2 separate regions of the Homo sapiens genome follow, and region 2 is linked to region 1. The links are contacts of gene promoters, found by promoter capture Hi-C in blood cells and fetal thymus (Javierre and others, 2016). All regions are on one chromosome and are shown on one strand. Each heading gives the region's core, a stretch centred on a gene start or on the middle of the fragment in contact. The rest is flanking DNA. Distances are from core to core; before and after follow the strand shown.

Region 1 (2,902 bases), core at 67-2,566:
TAAATGTGGCAAAAAGATACCACTGATTAATACACATGATGAAAATATGGGTGTTCGTTGTACTATTCTTTCAATTTTTATATAGATTTGAAACATTTCTAAATAAAAATTGGGAGGGGGAAAAAACCATATTTAGTTAATGAAGGCATATTTACATTGTATAATGTTTATTAAGAGCCTAGAGGGACAATATCTTATATATCTAAAATAATCACTACATATGAGATGAGAAATGTCTCAGTGACTTGATATAAATACTTCAAACATCATTTTGCTCTGAGATAATAGAATTAGTGTACTACCTTTGAATATCTCCAAAATTCCACTTATGATATGGATGTTTGACACAGACTTCAAATACTCTTCAATCCTCCAGAAGCTTCTCAAGCTCAGAAACAATCTTCTTCTCACACTGACCTATGCAAGAAATGTTATAAAATATCAATATAAATATTCTGTCCAAACCAGGTCTATATTTAAGCACAGATTCATATGCGCAAGACAAAGAATGTTTGAGCGAGTCTAAAGATAATTCAAACAAAACTCCACTCGTACATGCGCTATCTTTAATACCAAAAGGGAAGCTTTCCCCAAATCACCCAGATGAAAGTCGAAAAGCATCCTCACTATAGATCGCATTCATTTTGAATACATCCTGCCACACAGAAAAACACTATCACAAGCTTGCTGAACTGAATAATTGAGAGTCAAATCCAATTGGAAAGGACTGTGATTGTTTTCGTCTCTAAAACTGCATCACCGTAACTGAATTCAAGAGCTGTGTTGTCCCTGCAAAACCCTGCTTAGGTTTTTAGGCCTTCTTTTAAAAATGCAGAAGCTAAACCAGTGTGGCAATTAGTGAAAGAGGACTGCAAAAATAACACAATAAATATTTGCTCAGATCAGTCAAAAATTGTAGGTAAAAATATAAGTGTTTTAGAAATGCTTAGAATGTGGACACGAGGAGGTAAGGAAAGGAAGTATTGGGCTTAATTTCTCTTTATTTTTCAACTCCACTGAATGCTTGTTTAAACTCCCACTTGTCTCTGATATGGTAAGCTAGAAAAGCATTTTAGATGTCATAAGAATGGATCAGCGCTCTCGTGATAAAGGGCTAAGAAAGCGTGAGAAGACAGATGACAAAAAATAATAGCGGAGTTCTAGGGTCCTTTGCTTTCTTTTTCTTACCTTCACTAACCAATCTGCTCATCTGATCCGGCAGAAACACAGCAACTGACCAAACAGAGAGATGAACAAGCCAGCCAATGCTCTTTCCAGAAATTTTCACAAGCCTTTCACTGATGAGACCAGTAGACTGAGCTGCTCAGTGCAAAGCCATTCTTTTTATAATTGGTCCCATGGAAAAAGAGTTGTTTTTGTTCAAGTCCGATTTGTGCTAAAGAGGCAGTGGGAAGTCCCGGGAGGTGGGGAGGCAGTAACTGACAAAGCCACATCAAGCCACAGAATGGTGTTTCTTCCCCTTTTTCGAAAAATGAAACCTATCTACGAAACTGTCTCTTATTAAAATAGTTTATGGTTACACATTTTGTAAGAACCCTAGCAACAGAATTAAATTTCCTTTCTAGAAAAGTACATTATCTGGGATCCTTCACCCAAAAGAAAGCCAAAGTCACATATGACTTTAGGAAATTCTGTTTCGTTACTAATCTATAATTTTTAAGAAGTATTATTTCTCAATGGTACTTATAATTTTTAAAAATGTAAATGAAAAAAATTTTCTCGGCCGGGCGCAGTGGCTCACGCCTGTAATCCCAGCACTTTGGGAGGCCGAGGCAGGTGGATCAGGAGGTCAGGAAATCGAGACCATCCTGGCAAACACGGCGAAACCTCGTCTCTCCTAAAAATACAAAAAATTAGCCGGGCGCGGTGGCGGGCGCCTGTGGTCCCAGCTACTCGGGAGGCTGAGGCAGGAGAATGGCGTGAACCCGGGAAGTGGAGCTTGCAGTGAGCCGAGATCGCGCCACTGCACTCCAGCCTGGGCGACAGGGCGAGACTCCGTCTCAAAAGAAAAAAAAAAGAAAAAAGTTTTCCCTCTCCAAATACCGAAGGTCAAAACAATAATACATGGTGTGGGCAAAGTTGTGAAGAAACAAGCACTCTCAAACACTACTGATGAGATTGTAAACATATTTAGAGGGCAATTTCCCAGTATCTCTCAAATACAAATATTCATACCCTTTGACCCAACAATTGTATTTTTTATAAATTTGTCCAAGCTATATGTTTACACTTGTACACAAAGACTTATGTGAAAAGATATTTGTTGCAGCATTGCTTGAGAAAATAAATGACTAGAAAAAATTATATCCATAAATAAGATATTGGCCAAGTAAATGAGAACGTATGCATACTTAAAATCCTATGTAGGTTGTGTGCGGTGGCTCACGCCTGTAATCCTAGCACTTTGGGAGGCCGAGGCAGGTGGATCACTTGAGGTCAGAAGTTTGAGACCAGCCTGGCCAACATGGTGAAACCTTGTCTCTACTAAAAATACAAAACTTAGCCACGCGTGGTGGTGGGCACCTGTAATCCCAGCTACTCGGAGGCTGAGGCATGAGAATCCCTTGAACCCGAGAGGTGGAGGTCACAGTGAGCTGAGATTGTGCCACTGCACTCCAGCCAGGGTGACAGAGCGAGACTCCATCTCAAAAAAAAAAAAAAAGAAAAAAAAAGATCTCTAACATATATTGTTTAGCAAGAACTCATTTTCCAGTTTGTATTTTTAAGGAATATATGTATATACATGCTTATGTAATAGAATATTTCTTTTTAAAATTTTGTATTTTAATTTTTGTAGGTATACAGTAGGTGTATATATTTATGGGGTACATAAGATGTTTCGATACATGCATATGATGCATAATAATTACATCATGAAAAA
Region 2 (3,038 bases), core at 59-2,558, 1.1 Mb before region 1:
AAAAAGATCAGTTCCTTTATTCAACTCCAGTGAACATCCTTCATTATATCTTGTTTCCTTCTGATATATCTGAGAAGAAAATGGAATAATTTAGAAGATGCCAGTGGGATAAAACACTATATTCCTAAATATAGTGCAGTTTTCAGAGCTATTTTAGCCACTGTAATTGAAATCCTCTTGTTCTCCACTGACATATTTTGGAAGCCCATATGTTTAGAGTCTGAAATTTCATTCCAAAAATGATAGAAAGCCTCTTGATCTCAGAATGGAGAGTTACTGAACTGAATTAAAATGGGCAAAGGCTTCAGTAAACTTGAGGAAGTAATGTATGGCCTTCCACGTGGATTAATTTCACTCTCTATCCTGGGAAGTATGGTACCCAGGTAGCCCGTGTGAAAAATATCATGTTGGTGATGTCCGTATGCTACCATATTAGAGACAAAGTCATACGTTCTGCGATGCTATTTTCTAGGCGGTTTGTTTCTTTGCATTACAGTAGTATATTCGGCACCACACAGAAGTTAAAATTATAAGAGGGAAGTAACCTTCCTTAGTGAGACTACAACTGTGAAGCTATAACTAATAGACACTAAGATAGAAATAAATTATTCTTATGATATATAACATAAGCATGAGCATGTAATATTGTTGGGAGCTCTAGCAGAAAGTACTACAGTAGTAGTAGTTTTTTTTTTTTTTAAGACAGGGCCCGGCTCTGTCACTCAGCAGGCTGGAGTGCAGTGGCACGATCTCAGCTCACTGCAACCTCTACCTCCTGGGCTCAAGCCATCCTTCCACCTCAGCCTCTTGAGTAGCTGGGACTACAGGCACACGCCACCATACGTGGCTGATTTTTGTATTTTTTAGTAAAGACTGTGTTTTGCCATGTTGCCCAGGCTGCTCTTGAACTCCTGGCCTCGAGCAATCCACCCGCTTTGGCTTCCCAAAGTGATAGTACTGCAGGCGTGAGCCACTGCACCTGGCCCAGTAGTCCATTAAAAAAAAAAAAAAAAAAAAACTCATTGAGCACCTACTTTGTAACAGGTACTGTTGTAGGTGCTAGGGATAAAATATACTTGTTTCTCCTACTGGATCTTGCTTTTCTTGGAGAAAGAAAGAAACACAATGTCTTAGTCCATTTTCTGTTACTATAACAAAATACCACAGACAGGGTAATTTATTTTCAAAAAAGTTTATTCAGCTCATAGTCTGGAGGATGGGAATTTTAACAGCATAGTGCTGGCATCTGGTGAGAGCCATCTTGCTATGTGATAATATGTCGAAGGGTATCACATGGTGACAGGGCAAGATCTTTCTTCTTCCTATAAAGCCACCAGTCCCATCATGGGGGCTCACCCTTTTGACTTTATCTAATCCTAATTACCTCCCAAAATCCCCGCCTCCAAATACGATCAACATATGAATTTGGGAATTAAGTTTCCAACACATAAAGTTTGGGGAACACATTCACACCATAGCACACAATAAACGAGCAAAAAATACTATATTAGATCATAATAAGTGACATGAAGACTGATGCAACAAAATAAAGGAGGTAGGAGGTACCAGAGGGGAAGAATGGTTATTGTTATTTCAGATACAGTGTTCCAGGAAGAAACTGGTATCTGAGTAGAGAGTTAAAGGAAGTGAGAAAGTGCATGTTGAAATCGGTGACAGAGGTAAAGACAGGTGCAAATGTCCTGAGGCAGGAACATATATCATGGGCATATTCTAGATAAGGCTTTGGCTTCCTTATGCTTCCTTTTTAGTGGGGAAGACAGAACGCAAAGCAAATGCAAAATAAATAATATGCAGTCAGGTTGAGATTAGTGTTATGGAATAAAAGAAGAGAGAGTAAACAATGGGGGAAGGAACAACATTAAGTAGGATAATCAGGAGACTTCTCTGGAGAGATGACCCTTACCCTCAGACCTAAATGATACACTACAAAATAAATGCCTGTACAATCACTAAAGGATTAACACAAACTGAAGGTAAAAACCATTGTGTAAGCGTTTTCCTGAATTCAAGAATTAGATTATTATTCTGAAGCTATTTTAATATTGGGAAAATCTTGTTAGCATTTTTTTCTGACAAAGTTCAAATAATGATTTCTGAAATTTAATTCTACCTAATACTAGGTGTACTTTAGAAAAATAACCAAAATGAGCTGCAGAAGTATTTTACTTTATTATAATAAATATTACAGTATGCATCATGAAATGAAAGAAAAATAATCCTTTGCCTATAGTTTTATTATCTCCAAATGAGTAGAAACTGAATGATGCATTTGGCAAAGCACATAAAACTTCACTTAAGAGATGTCTGTTAATACTTGCTGAGTGGAAAATAATAGCTAGCATTTGTTTGAACGCTTGATGTGTGCCAGGTGGGACACTAGGGATTTTACAAACACTAATCCATTTAAGACTCATACACCTCTGCAAGGTATGTAGTACTATTCTTCCTCCTAGGTAGCCTGAGTCAGTGTCAAAGAGGATTCTGTCTTGGGTCTATGTGATTTCAAGTACTGTGCTCCTTTAACCCCACTCTTAATTGTGAAAATCTTTATCACAGGACTCTGAAACTTCCTGTGATTCACTTTCTCCATGGTGTCCACAGTCCTTTCATGCTATATGTACCACAAATAGCATGAAAGGACTTCCTTTTAACCTAAAGCCTTTTTACAATTAACCCTTGCAATTTACGCTTTTTGATTTTTGTGGTTAGTGTCTGTTCTTGTCAAAATTGTGAATTAGAGCAAGTTTCTCCTTGATGTCATCACACTTCTTTGAAGTCATCAAGCATTTAGTTCTCATTAGGCAGAACAGGCCCTGGCGACTCAAAGTGTGAGCAGGAGCCAGCAGCATCAGCAGCATCCCCAAATCTGCTCAACAAGAGTATTAACAAGATCCCCATGGAATCTGTAGGCACATTAAAGTTTGAGAAGCGCAGCGTTAGGCCAGCATCAGCAACACTTGGGACCTTGCTAAAAATGCATTATTTGTACCCGAAGCTCCAGGAATGTGGCCCAAGAA

The links. The method cuts DNA at HindIII sites, captures the fragments that hold promoters and counts their contacts. A CHiCAGO score of 5 or more calls a contact.
Region 2: a contact is called between a fragment that was not itself captured here and the fragment with the promoter of TASL in region 1, in 1 of 17 cell types (M1 macrophages). The highest score is 5.9, in M1 macrophages.

Annotation. Positions count from the first base shown.
Region 1 is chrX:30,576,450-30,579,351 of GRCh38, forward strand. It overlaps TASL (TLR adaptor interacting with endolysosomal SLC15A4), which reads right to left and starts at 1,317. Exons shown (of 3, transcript NM_025159.3): 1 at 1,189-1,317; 2 at 303-417. RefSeq lists an enhancer at 1,339-1,548. The HindIII fragment of the contact is 8,514 bases long and covers 682-2,902 here.
Region 2 is chrX:29,483,008-29,486,045 of GRCh38, forward strand. All of the region lies in intron 5 of IL1RAPL1 (interleukin 1 receptor accessory protein like 1), which reads left to right. Among named protein-coding and RNA genes, the nearest start is that of MIR4666B, 90 kb to the right of the region's middle. The HindIII fragment of the contact is 3,746 bases long and covers 1-3,038 here.